3 separate regions of the Homo sapiens genome follow, and regions 2 and 3 are each linked to region 1. The links are contacts of gene promoters, found by promoter capture Hi-C in human tissues and cell types (Jung and others, 2019). All regions are on one chromosome and are shown on one strand. The core of a region is centred on a gene start or on the middle of the fragment in contact, and the rest is flanking DNA. Distances in the headings are between cores, read along the strand shown. Region 1 holds the start of BIK (BCL2 interacting killer). Region 2 overlaps TTLL12 (tubulin tyrosine ligase like 12). Region 3 overlaps TTLL1 (TTL family tubulin polyglutamylase complex subunit L1).

Region 1 (4,328 bases), core at 850-3,349:
CTGCAGCCTCAACCCCTCCAAGCTCAGGTAGGCCTCTGAACTCAGCCTCCTGCGTAGCTAGGACCAGAGGCACATGCCACCATGCCCGGTTAATTTTTTGTATTTTTGGTAGAGACAGGGTTTTACCATGTTACCCAGTCTGGTCTAGCCCAGTCTAGTCTCCTGAGCTCAAGCAATCCTCCTGCCTCAGCCTCCCAAAGTGCTAGGATTACAGGCACGAGTCAAATGTGTGAGAATCTTAGTCTTAACATCCTTAAGACAATTAAAAAAAAAAAAAGGGCCAGGCATAGGGGCTCACGTCTGTAATCCCAGCACCTTGGGAGGCTGAGGCAGGAGTATTTAAACACTCAAGCCGGGCGGGGTGGGTCACACCTGTAATCCCAGCACTTTGGGAGGCTGAGGCGGGTGGATCGCCTGAGGTCAGGAGTTCGAGACTAGCTTGGCCAACATGGTGAAACCCCATCTCTACTAAAAATACAAAAAATTAGCTGGGCCTCGTGGTAGGCGCCTGTAATCCCAGCTACTAGGAGGCTGAGGCAGGAGAACCGTTTGAACCCAGGAGGCCGAGGTTGCAGTTAGCCGAGACGGCGCCATTGCACTCCAGCCTGGGCAACAAGAGCGAAGCTCTGTTTCAAAAAAAAACAAAAAGAAACAAAAAACACCCAAACTGTGCCATTCCTGAGAACTTATTCCAAAGGCGTGCCCAAATTAAGTAGAAATCGGGGTGAGTCTTAACTCCAGGGAGGCTACTAACTTGAGAGGGGCTTTCACCTGGCCAGAAACCTCAGGGATACATTTTGCAGAGTGAACAGAACAAACTGAGGTTCAGAGAGATGGAGTGGCCCTTCCGAGGCCACAGGGCTGGAGAGTGGAAAGAGGTTTTGGCTTGGGTTCCATAAAGGGCCCTTGGCTTCTAGCTAGACAACCCTGGCATTTCTGTGCCTCCTGGGACTGAAATCTCTGTTTCTCCACCTGGAAGATGAGGCCTCCTGCTCCCAGGGGCAGACAGATGTTAAGAACTTCCCGGCGCTAGTGCCCACCAGACTGCGCTCCTCCTAATGCGGGGACATGAGGCTGACACCAATGCTCCCTGGGAAGCTCGGGCTCCCAGACCACAGTAAACACTGCGTTAAAACAGCAACAAAAATGTTACAATAGTAAGAGCTACAACAGTAACATCAACAACCACGTCCTACCCCACGAGTGGCTCATTCTAGCAAAATTGACAATGAAGGGCTTGAAAGCGATCGCATTTAGGAGGCCAGAGCCCAGACGACGACCAGCTCCGAACCCCACAAGCCTTGTCGTGACCGCGCCCCGCAGGCGGGGGGCCCCCTCGCGGGTCACCCGCAGGGGCGCACCTCCAATTTACCAAACAAGGTCGCATGCCCCAGCCGGGCTCTAGTCCCCGCCCAGTCTGGGGCGCACCTGTGCAGGGCGCGTGGGCAAGCGAGGGCGGGCGGCTGCGCGCCGCTCCGTGTGCACGTTCCTGTTCCGGACTTTCTGGGCGTCCCGTTACGAAGCCTTTCCTCGGCCCTTCCTCAGGTGCGCAGCGCCTCCGGGAGCCGGTCCCGGCGGCACCGGGCACGACGCCATCTTCCCTCTTTTAAGGGCACCGGGGCTGTGCGGCCGCGGCCGTGGGCTGGCGTTGCCGCGCTACGGTCTGGCCGGGTCCGCACGACCCCAGAGTTCGGAGCCGGGTGCCCGGAAGCCGCACTGGAGGACTGTGCGGCGGCGATGGGGCGTCCAGCCGTCGCGGCGAGACGCAGAGGGACCACCCCATTGCACAGGCGCGGAGACTGAGGCCCGCAGGGGCCGCGCCTGGCACGATCGCCCGTCGGGGACCTGGAGCCCCGGACAGAGAGGGTACGTTTCGGAGCCGGAGTCCCGAGACGTCGCCCCGCCAGCGACTTGCTGGAGCGGTAAAACCTGGGCACGGCTCCCCACACTTCCAGCCGCTCGGCACCCGGGCCGCGGCCTGGGCGCTAACCGCCGGGCTCGAGCTGGGCGGAGCAGCGGGCGGCAGCAGGGTCGGGGGCACTCACCTGGCGGCGGCGATGCTGGCAGCGTCTGTAAGCCACCCGGGAGGCTTCGTGTCTGCGGCCCGGCTGCCGGCGCGGGACCTAATAGGCCCGGGCGCCCCGCCCCTCCCGCCCCGCCCGGGTCCCGCCCCTCCCCGGGAGCGGCCTCTCGCACCCCGAGCGCGGAATCCCGGACTGGGGTCTGAATGGCATTGGCAACAGAACCGCTACAAGTGCAGCCCGTTGGCTTGTTTACAGCCTCTCTGCCCCCTGCTGTTCTGCAAGCTTGTTTTGTCCCGTGCGTCGCTGTTTCCCCTGCGCCCAGCACGGGCGTGCACTCAGGGGTTTCCATCAATATCGGGGGGATCGATCCATTGACAGAATCTGGCCCTTTACACGGATGGCCTCCGTTCGAGCTCAAAGTACTCCTCGGTGCTTTTTTTCACGATCATTTTACCCACGTGGAAACCGAGGCTCCAAGAGGACGAAATGACTTAAATGACAGCGTGAAGCCAGCGTTCAAAGACGTGTGCTCCTTAGGCTGGCAGCTTTGGGATTTAGGTGTTTTAAAGCCTATTTCACAAATATGAAAACCGAGGTTCACATTTGGTTAGCAGCAGCATCCAGTGATCCATACCCGAAGCCAGGGGGCTGCCCCTCCACTGCCGCCCGTCCGCAGCCTTCCAGCTGCATGACACACCCACTGCCTTCCCCCTCCCGTCGGGGCTCCGGGTCCGCGAGAGGCGGGCGGGACTGGGAGGGATTGGGGGCAGGGGGCTCACGTGCAGACCTGGTGAGACGGACCCCACAGCGCCTGGCGGGGCGAACAGAGAAATCAGAAAGCTTCCAGGCGGGGTGGGCGGGTGGGCAGCCTGCTACGCGGGGATGGGTAGGACCTAACTCCAGCCCTGGGGTATATTGGGGGTGGGAGAAGGCAGAGCGCTCCTGGAATAACAAAGTAACAATTGTCCTGGGCACGGCAAAGCTTGTTTACTTCTGTCTTGATCCCCTCAGAGATTAGGGGAGGGGCAGGGACAGGGGTTCCCCTCCCCCAGCTCTGTCGTTTGCTACCTGTTGGGTACCCTCACTCTGTTCTTCCCACCTCTAGGGTAATTACTTCCCCTTCAATGTTCTCATCTGTGAAATGGACAACAGCACCTACCAAGAGCTGGGCTGTTGGGAGGAACAGAGGAGGTAAAGTGTGATAAAGTCTTCAGAGCCCCTCCCGCCTTCCGGGCTCTGGACCTTCTTTGCTTTTGTGGGGTTTTTTTGTTTGTTTTTGTTTTTGTTTTTTTGAGACAGAGTCTAGCCCTGTTGCCCAGGCTGGAGTGCAGTGGCACAATCTTGGCTCACTGCAACGTCTGTCTCCCAGGTTGAAGCAATCCTCCCGCCTCAGCCCCCCTAGTAGCTGGATTACAGGCGTGTGCCACCATGCCCGGCTAGTTTTTGTATTTTTAGTAGAGACGGGGTTTTGCCATATTGGCCAGGCTGGTCTTGAACTCCTGACACCAGGTGATCCACCGGCCTCGGGCTCCCAAAGTGCTGGGATTACAGGCGTGAGCCACCACTCCCGGCCCTGTAGTCTTTTCTTCTAGGGCCTCCAAACTACATCAACCCCTACAAAGCAGCTCGCCCTGACTGTGGCTAACAGCCACAGAGTGCCTTACAGTCAGGAGCAGGGAACCCTTCATAATGGGGGCTTCCCTCTGAATGCATTTTGCAGATGAAAAAATTGAGACTCAGGGAGGTAAAGCAATGACACGGGGTCTCATGGGTCCGAAAGACCTGATATATGTGAGATGCTTGCAGAGGGGTCTTAAGGCTGGAGGCACAGTGCCAGGTATGTAGGAGATGTTCAGTAAACATTAGCAGAAAAGATGGAGAAAGAAGGACCGTTTGGGGACACTGGATGATTCAAGGGCAGAGTGGGTGCAAATACAGTACTTATTTACTTTGCAAAATCCCAAGACAATATGCTGATCAAAAGGAGGAAGAGATGGCTGGGCATGGTGGCTCACGCCTATAACCCCAGCACTTTGGGAGGCCAAGGCAGGTGGATCACCTGAGGTCAGGTGTTTGAGACCAGCCTGGCCAACATGACGAAACTCCATCTCTACTAAAAATTAAAAAACTAGGCCAGGCGCGGTGGCTTGCGCCTGTAATCTCAGCACTTTGGGAGGACAAGGCAGGCGGCTCATCTGAGGTCAGGAGTTTGAGACCAGCCTGACCAACATGGAGAAACCCCATCTCTACTAAAAATACAAAATTAGCTGGGCGGGGTGGCACATGCCTGTAATCCCAGCTACT
Region 2 (4,328 bases), core at 1,011-3,510, 59 kb before region 1:
TAGCACCTCACTCACCTCCACCCCAGCTCAGTGGGGCTGTGGGGCTCCCCCAGCCACACAGACAAGGGAACAGGCTCCCGCCTGAGCAGCAGGTGGTCCTGCCCTGAGCCCTGAACCCCTAGTTGGGAAGGCTGAGTGGGTGGCACCTCCCTCGCAGGGACAAGGCCGCTCAAGAACCCATATGTGTCTGCACACTTGTCTTCCAGGGCCTTTGCACTCAACGACCTGGATGACTACGAGAAGCACTTCACGGTCATGAACTATGACCCGGATGTGGTGCTGAAGCAGGTAGGGCCTGAGGGAGGTGCAGAGCAGGTTCACACAGAGGCCAGGGCACACCCGACCCCACCCCGCCCACACTGCCTCCTAGGAGGACTGGCACACAGGCCAGTCCCAGGAGCCGCCTCCTGAGTTCCTGCTATGGAAGGCGATTGTTAGCGCTGCCATCATGAGCCAGGCTGGGTTCTGTGTTGTCTCAGGTAGGTCTCCCCACGGCACAGAGGGCCACTGGCTGTGTTTGAGATAATGTGGACACAGAGGGGGATGGGTCCAGCAGCAGGTTGAGACAGTGTGTTCCCAGCCGGGGCTTACTCCTCACCACCACTTCAACCGGAAAAGCAGACCACCCTGTGAGTGCCAGGGCAGGCGGGGGCGGGGAGGCCCCACCTGGTCCGGCTGGCTGCTGGCCCGTGACCCTGCCCGGGTCTAGGACCTCCTGTCCTCCCTGGTGCACAGTGTTGAGCGGTGCCCCATGCAGTGGGCACTCAGTGAATGGCAGCTGCACCATCTGAGCACCTGGAGCTCAGGGGCATCTGGACAAAGGCCCTTCCAAGGTGGGGGCGAGAAACCAGAGCTGGCCAGCCAGTGTACGTGGACAGGTAGGCACAGCCTGCACAGAAGCAGGAGGCCAGCTCTGGGTACAGGAAGGAAGAAAGGAAGTCCTGGAAGGCCTCTGTGGCCTGGCTGGTTAATGAGTGTTTCAGATGCACAGAACACCTACCCCACCCTGCCTGTCGCCAGCCTTGCAGGTGCCGCGGACTCCCCATGCAGCCAGCCCCAACGCTCCCCGACCCCTGAACGTGTGGCTGTCATTCCCAGGCATGTCTTTGGTTCTTTTCAGCAGGAGTATGTTCCTGACCATTCAAGCTGCTGTTTTGCTTACTTAGGTTTTTTGTTTTGTTTTGTTTTTTTGAGAGACAATGTCTCACGCTGTCACCCAGGCTGGAGTGCGGAGGCATGATCTGGGCTCACTGCAACCTCAATCTCCTGGGCCCAAGCCATCCTTCTGCCTCAGCCCCCTAAAGTAGCTGGGACTACGGGCACGTGCCTCCACGCCCGGCTAATTTTTTTGTATTTTTAGTAGAGACGGGGTTTCGCCATGTTGCCCAGGCTTGTCTGAAACTCCTGGACTCAAGCGCTCCGCCTGCCTCAGCCTCCTAAAGTGCTGGGATTACAGGCGTGAGCCACCATGCCCGGCCTCCTACTTAGGTTTTTATGTAAATATCATCTTATTCAACGGATCCTTCTGCAGCTTGCTTTGTTGGCTGAGTGGCGTGTTTTGAGGTTTTGAGGTTCGGGCTTGTTGCTAACTGTGGCGGCGATTGGTCATCTGAGGTCTTCACTAATGATAAATCATGGCGCGTGAACATGCGTGGAGGCACCTGGCCATGCCCATGTCCGAGGAGTCCTCTAGGAGGACTTGGAGAAAGGGCCCTGCCATGCACTGGTGACTATACCAGCACACACTCCCCACAGGGGCCGAGTGGTCCTGTTGCTTCTGTCTGTCTTATCCTTGCCTGTGTTGAAGCCTACTCCCTAGGACCCAGACCCCCCAGCAGGGCCCCAGGACATTGTTGGAAGTCGCCCTCAGGTTCTGAGCCCCTCCCTTCTGTACTGTGGGGGTCATCCCGGGAGTCCTCTCCTGGAGCTCTGTGCCTGGGGAGGTACGTCCAGCATGGCATGGATGGCGGGCTTCCATAGGGGCCTTTCCTGGCTTGTTCTTTTCTGGGAGAAACCTGAGCCGACTGCCACCTTCCTCGGGTGTGTTTTGGGTAAAGTCTTGAGGCCAGAAAGATCTTGCATCCCTCAAGCACTCTTGAGCTGGTGCTGAACCAGGGCACAGGCAGGTCCCGCGGCGGAGTCTTGAGCTCTGCCTCCTTCGCACTGTACTGAGCTGAGTGTGAGGATGGTGCCAGCCCAGGCCCTGCAGTTTCTGGAGCCCTCGATGTTCATTGTCTCGCGTGAGCCTCACAGCTGCGTGGCAAAGTCAGTTTACTGGGCAGAGCACATTTTCCCATTTCACAGAGGAGGAAACAGGCTCAGAGAAGTTAATCCGTTGGTCCAGAGTCACACAGTAAGACCTGGAGCCCAGACTCCATCTCCTGCCTCCTGTTTGGACCCTGAGGGTTCGGGGTTGGCTGCCTGCTCCTGGAACCCCCACCCAGTGTCAGAAGCTCCTGGTCCAGGCAGTAGCAGGCTGCCTGCTCCCGGCCCAGCGGAGGCCTGTACAGAGCGTGATGGGCCCTGTGTCTGTTGCAGGTGCACTGTGAAGAGTTCATCCCCGAGTTTGAGAAGCAATACCCAGAATTTCCCTGGACGGACGTCCAGGTAATTCCTGTCCTGCACACCATCGCAGGCCGGTGGGGCGGGTCCCGGGCTGGGGGCCTGCAGGAGCTGCTCCCTTCCCTCTCTGCTGGCATGGGCTGGGAGGGACCTTTGTCCCCTGCAGTTGGTCATTCTCCCCAGAGGCTGGCAAGACAGCGTGGGCTCCCCTCCCTTCCACCCTGGGCATTTGTGGGTGCTCCTGAGAGGGAGGGAGCTGGAGGGGCATGTGGGGCACCCCTGGGACAGCCAGAGGGTGGCGGCACTGCCTGACCCTAGATTCCCAGTCATATGGAGACGTTGGCTGGGCCTCCATGTCCAGCAGCGGCATTCTGGGTGCTGTGTTGAGCTCCTTGGGGCAGTGGGGAGCAACGGGGTCTGCGGCAGGAGATGGGCAGATTTGCAGAAGGTGGGCGTCAGGAGTAAGAGGGCAGGTGCTGGGCGGAGGTGGCCATGGTGAGGTCTAGAGACGTGAAGATGTGGGAGGGGGTGACTTGGGCCACGTGGGGCCCGGGACTTGGGCAGGGGCAGCAGACCCCCTCTTGAGAGGCTGTTCTGAGCAGGCCTCGTAACTCAGGCTCCCCGGTCCCCAGGCTGAGATCTTCCGGGCCTTCACGGAGCTGTTCCAGGTGGCCTGTGCCAAGCCACCACCCCTGGGCCTCTGCGACTACCCCTCATCCCGGGCCATGTATGCCGTCGACCTCATGCTGAAGTGGGACAACGGCCCAGATGGTAAGAGGGGCTCCCCATCTCCTGATCCAAACCAGCAGGCGCCCCCTCCGCCAGCCAGCCACAGCCTGGAGAAGGCAGGCAGCTGCCCCAGGCTGTCCTCTGGCTTGAATCAGCCAGGAATCTGGGTTGGGGAAAGCCCTGGCTTGGCCCACAGGAAGTGCCTGCGGTGCAGAGTCTGGAGGGGAAAGGCTGCGGGTTGGGCCTCTGAGTCGGGGGAGAGCTCACAGGACAGGAGACCCGTGTGAAAGGCACCCTGACCCCAACCCACACCACCCTGGCTGGCCTTCCCTGTGCCAGACCCCCACACAGTACACTGCTGCTGCATATCTACTTTTTTTTTTTTTTACTAAACTGAACATCCAAGCTTAAAGGGCCAGGCTGTCATCCCTAGGGCTGGAGGCAGCCCTGGCCTCTCCTAGAGAAGCAGATGTCAGGCCAGGCCTCCCCAGCAAAGTCAAGAGACCCAAGTTCTAGGCCCGGCCTTGTCCTGCTCATCCCCTGGGAATCAGGGCCCAGGTTCATGGCCTCCCAGCCTTTGCTGGATCCCCAGGCCACTGTCCCTGCAGAGTGGAGGCCAACGAGCCTTCACACTCTGCTGCGCTCTTTGCCATCAGGAAGGCGGGTGATGCAGCCGCAGATCCTGGAGGTGAACTTCAACCCCGACTGTGAGCGAGCCTGCAGGTACCACCCCACCTTCTTCAACGACGTCTTCAGCACCTTGTTTCTGGACCAGCCCGGTGGCTGCCACGTTACCTGCCTTGTCTAGGCACTCGCTGTCCCCAAAACCTGTGCTTGGGGCAGGATTCCAACCTCAGTTCTCTGAGCTGCTTCTGCAAAGGCCCCCATGTCCCTCCCCACACCGGCCCTGGGCATAGCCTCAGCCCCAGGCCTCTGTCCTGCCGAGCCATCCTCCCGGCGCCACACTCCGGGAGCACAGCATCCTCCTCTCACCTGTGGGTCAGAGCAGGACAGTGATGGTGTCCCCAGGGCTGAGC
Region 3 (4,328 bases), core at 817-3,316, 37 kb after region 1:
CTGTTTAGAGGATTCCTTGGGTTTAAAGGGAAGTGAGCTGTTGAAGTTTCATATCTCTAATATTTTGATCTCTTCCAGGATTATGGCAGGGAAAGTAAAATGGGTCACTGATATCGAGAAGTCAGTGCTGATCAATAACTTTGAAAAGAGAGGATGGGTCCAAGTGACAGAAAACGAGGACTGGAATTTTTACTGGTAAGCATACACAGCAGGGCTGGGTTGTTTCTCTGAGGCTTACGTATCGGTTTTACTAATTCCAGTGCCTCCCAGAGAGTGGCCTCAGAGCCACTGTCTCCTGTCATTGTGCCATCTCCCCGCACACATTTTTCCTTAAGGTTTTTTGTGAGAGTATGTGTTGTGGTGTGTTCCCACATCACTGTGTTCACCCTGGGGTATGAAGTCCGGGGTGTTTCAGCACAGCAACCCTGTGGGGAGTTTGGGTGAGAAACAAGAGCCTCAGCCCTCCCCTTCCAGTGAGCGTGCGTTATAGCTGGGCCAGAGGACAGGACAGAGTCTTGCTCTGTCACCCAGGCTGGAGTGCAATGGTGCGATCTCAGCTCATTGCAATCTCTGCCTCCTGGGTTCAAGCGATTCTCCTGCCTTAGGCTCCCAAGTACCTGGGATTACAGGCGCCACCACACCTGGCTAATTTTTTTGTGTTTTTAGTAGAGACGGGGTTTCACCATGTTGGCCGGGCTGGTCTTGAACTTTGTGATCCACCCGCCTCGGCCTCCCAAAGTGCTGGGATTACAGGTCTAAGCCAAGCGCCTGGCCACATTTTTTTCTTTTTTTGTAGAGACAGGGTCTTGCTATGTTGCCTAGGCTGGTCTTGAATTCCTGGCCTCAAGGGACCTTCCCATCTCGGCCTCCCAAAGTGCTGGGATTACAGGCATGAGCCACCATGTCCGGCCATGAATAAGAAGCAGTTTGGAGTTATTCTTTTTTTCTTTTTTGGTCATAAAGCTGCTGTTTATTTATTTATTTATTTATTTCAGAGGCAGAGTCTTCCCATGTTGCCCAGGCTGGTCTCAAACTCCTGGACTCAAGTGATCTTCCCACTTCAGCCTCCCAAAGTGTTGGGATTACAGGCGTGAGCCACTGTACCCAGCCTTCGGAGCTATTCTCAACAACAGCAAAAAATGGAATGAAATGAAGAAAAAGGCTAAACAGTGTAATAGTCTTGGCTAATTGATACATATATTTTTTTTTCTTTCTTTCTTTCTTTTTTTTTTTTTTTTTTTGAGACGAAATTTCGCTCCTGTCACCCAGACTGGAGTGCCATGGGGCAATCTCGGCTCATTGCAACCTCCACCTCCTGGGTTCAAGCGATTCTCCTGCCTTAGCCTCCCTAGTAGCTGGGATTACAAGCATGTGCCACCACGCCTGGCTTATTTTGTATTTTTAGTAGAGACGGGGGTTTCTCCATGTTGGTCAGGCTGGTCTCGAACTCCCGACCTCAGGTGATCCGCCCGCCTTGGCCTCCCAAAGTGCTAGGATTACAGGCGTGAGCCACTGTGCCTGGCCAAGCTAATTGATATTTTGAGAGCTCTTGTTCTGGCCGTCATGCCCGTAATCCCAGCACTGTGGGAGGCCAAGGCCGGTGGATCACTTGAGGCCAGGAGTTGGAGACCAGCATGACCAACATGACAAAACCTTGTCTCTACTAAAAATACAAAAAAACTAGCTGGGTGTGGTGGTGCCTGCCTGTAATCCCAGGAACTCGGGAGATTGAAGCAGGAGAATCGCTTGAACCCAGGAGGTGGAGGTTGCAGTGAGCTGAGATCGCGCCACTGCACTCCAACCTGGGTGACAGTGAGACTCTGTCTCAAAAAAAATAAATAAATAAATAAATAAAAAAGAAGAGCTTCTGTTCTAAGCACTAAATGTACAATCAGGTTTACAGAAAAATTGGTTGGGGTAAAATACTGGAAACAACTAAATGTTAAACAGTATGGGGGGGTGGGTTAAGTACTTTGAGTGGATTATGGTGCAGCCGTTAAAATAATTATGATGGGCTGGGCACAGCGGCTCATGCCTGTAATCCCAGCACTTTGGGAGGCCAAGGCGGGTGCATCACCTGAGGTCAGGAGTTGGAGACCAGCCTAGCCAACTTGGTGAAACCCCATCACTACAAAAATACAAAAATTATCTGGGTGTGGTGGTGCGCACCTGTAATCCTAGCTGCCCGGGAGGCTGAGGCAGGCAAATGGCCTCAACCTGGGAGGCAGAGGTTGCAGTGAGCTGAAATCACACCACTGCACTCCAGCCTGGGTGACAGAGTGAGACTGTACCTCAAAAAATAAAATAAATAAATAAATAAATAAATAAATAAATAAATAAATAGACCGGGCGCAGTGGCTCACACCTATAATCTCAGCACCTTGGGATGCCCAGGCAGGTGGATCACCTGAGGTCAGGAGTTTGAGACCAGCCTGGCCAACCATGGCCAACATGGTGAAACCCTGTCTCTACTAAAAATACAAAAATTAGCTGGGCTTAGTGGCAGGCGCCTGTAATCCCAGCTACTTGAGAGGCTGAGGCAGGGAGAATTGCTTGAACCCAGGAGGCGGAGGTTGCAGTTAGCTAAGATCGCACCACTGCACTCCAGCCTGGGCGACACAGCAAGACTGTCTCAAAAAAAAAAAAAGAATAATTGCAATGAATTGAAACTTATCATATGTATTTGAATTTATAAGTTCATACAACTGCAAACAGAAAAATACCCCAAAAGCCACATACCCAATTTGTGGCAGATTAAAGATGGCCACAGGCCAGGGCATAGAACTCTTGGGCACAGTGGCTCATGCCTGTAATCCCAGCACCTTGCGAGGAGTTTGAGACCAGCCTGGGCAGTATACTGAGACCCTGTCTCAAAAAAATTAGCTGGGTGGTGGGGTGCCTGGGTGCAGTGACTCATGCCTGTAATCCCAGCCTTTTGGGAGGTGGAGGCAGACAGATCTCTTGAGCCCAGGAGTTTGACACCAGCCTGTGCAAATGGTGAAACCTCATCTCTACAAACAAATACAAAAATTATCCAGGCATAGTGGTTCGTGCCTGTAGCCCCAGCTACTTGAGAGGCTGAGGTGGGAGGCTTGCTTGAGCCCAGGAGGTCAAGACTACAGTGAGCCTTGATTGTGCTACTGCACTCCAGCCTGGGCAACAGAGTGAGACCTTGTCTCTAAAAGAAAGAAAGAAAGAGAGAAAATAAAGATGGTGGCCAGGCGCGGTGGCTCACGCCTGTAATCCCAGCACTTTGGGAGGCCGAGATGGGCGGATCACAAGGTCAGGAGATCGAGACTATCCAGGCTAACACAGTGAAACCTCATCTCTACTAAAAATACAAAAAAATTATCCGGGCGTGGTGGCGAGTGCCGGTAGTCCCAGCTACTCGGGAGGCTGAGACAGGAGAATGGCGTGAACCCGGGAGGCGGAGATTGCAGTGAGCCGAGGTCACGCCACTACACTCCAGCCTGGGCGACAGAGCAAGACTCCGTCTCAAAAAAAAAAAAAAAAAGAAAAAGAAAATAAAGATGGTTGCGAAGTTCTTGCCACTACTTCACTCTAAAGTTGAGGTCTTTGTCCTTTCCTCGTGAAAGACTCTTTGACCACATTGACCAGTGGAATACAGTAAAAATCATACATGCCTGGGCCCAGGCCAATTCCTCTGTTGGAAACATGTGGGTGCCCTGAGCTGTCCTGTGAGAAGGTGCCATCCTGAAGCCCTCGTGCCACAGCGGCCACAGGTAGGTGTTGTACATGGCAGTGCAGCTGTGCCCACCTTCCAGCCTCCAGCTAGGCCTGCCAAGGTGTTAGACATGAAGAAAGCCTTCTGGGACCCCCAGCTCATCCCATCGGCTGGCTCTACACTTCTGAATGACCTCAGTCAGTGCCACAAGGAGAAGTAGAATTGCTCAGCTGAGCCCTGCCCCAATTCTCAGCCTTCCAAAGTGCTGGATTATAGGCCGGCATGGTGGCTCACGCCTGCAATCCTAGCACTGTGGGAAGCCAAGTCGGGCAGATCACCTGAGGTCAGGAGTTTGAGACCAGCCTGGCCAACGTGGCAAAACCCCGTCTCTACTAAAAATATAACAATTAGCGGTGTGTGGTGGTTCATGTCTGTAATCCCAGCTACTCAGGAGGCTGAGGCAGGAGAATGGCTCGAACCTGCGAGGCAGAGGTTGCAGTGAGCCAAGATCGTGCCACTGCACTCCAGCCTGGGCAACAGAGTAAAACTCTATCTCCAAAAACAAATAAACAAAACAAAACAAAACAAAACAAAAGTGCTGGATTACAGACGTGAGCCACTGCGCCCGGCCAGCTCTTTATTT

What was found. The method cuts DNA at HindIII sites, captures the fragments that hold promoters and counts their contacts. A contact is called where the count stands out against the background at its distance.
Region 2: a fragment that was not itself captured here is called in contact with the fragment with the promoter of BIK in region 1 in 3 of the 25 tissues and cell types used here (liver, mesenchymal stem cells and thymus).
Region 3: a fragment that was not itself captured here is called in contact with the fragment with the promoter of BIK in region 1 in 2 of the 25 tissues and cell types used here (liver and mesenchymal stem cells).

The regions. Positions count from the first base shown.
Region 1 is chr22:43,108,521-43,112,848 of GRCh38, reverse strand. It overlaps BIK (BCL2 interacting killer), which reads right to left and starts at 2,099. Exons shown (of 5, transcript NM_001197.5): 1 at 2,046-2,099. RefSeq lists silencers at 1,230-1,449, 1,980-2,149 and an enhancer at 1,474-2,032. The HindIII fragment of the contact is 22,290 bases long and covers 1-2,585 here.
Region 2 is chr22:43,167,779-43,172,106 of GRCh38, reverse strand. TTLL12 (tubulin tyrosine ligase like 12) reads left to right here. Exons shown (of 14, transcript NM_015140.4): 11 at 207-288; 12 at 2,539-2,607; 13 at 3,195-3,333; 14 at 3,948-4,328. The coding sequence ends at 4,099. Among named protein-coding and RNA genes, the nearest start is that of TTLL12, 17 kb to the left of the region's middle. RefSeq lists enhancers at 2,187-3,042, 3,043-3,899. The HindIII fragment of the contact is 9,757 bases long and covers 1-4,328 here.
Region 3 is chr22:43,071,341-43,075,668 of GRCh38, reverse strand. TTLL1 (TTL family tubulin polyglutamylase complex subunit L1) reads left to right here. Exons shown (of 11, transcript NM_012263.5): 3 at 79-195. The coding sequence starts at 83. Among named protein-coding and RNA genes, the nearest start is that of TTLL1, 16 kb to the left of the region's middle. The HindIII fragment of the contact is 8,863 bases long and covers 1-4,328 here.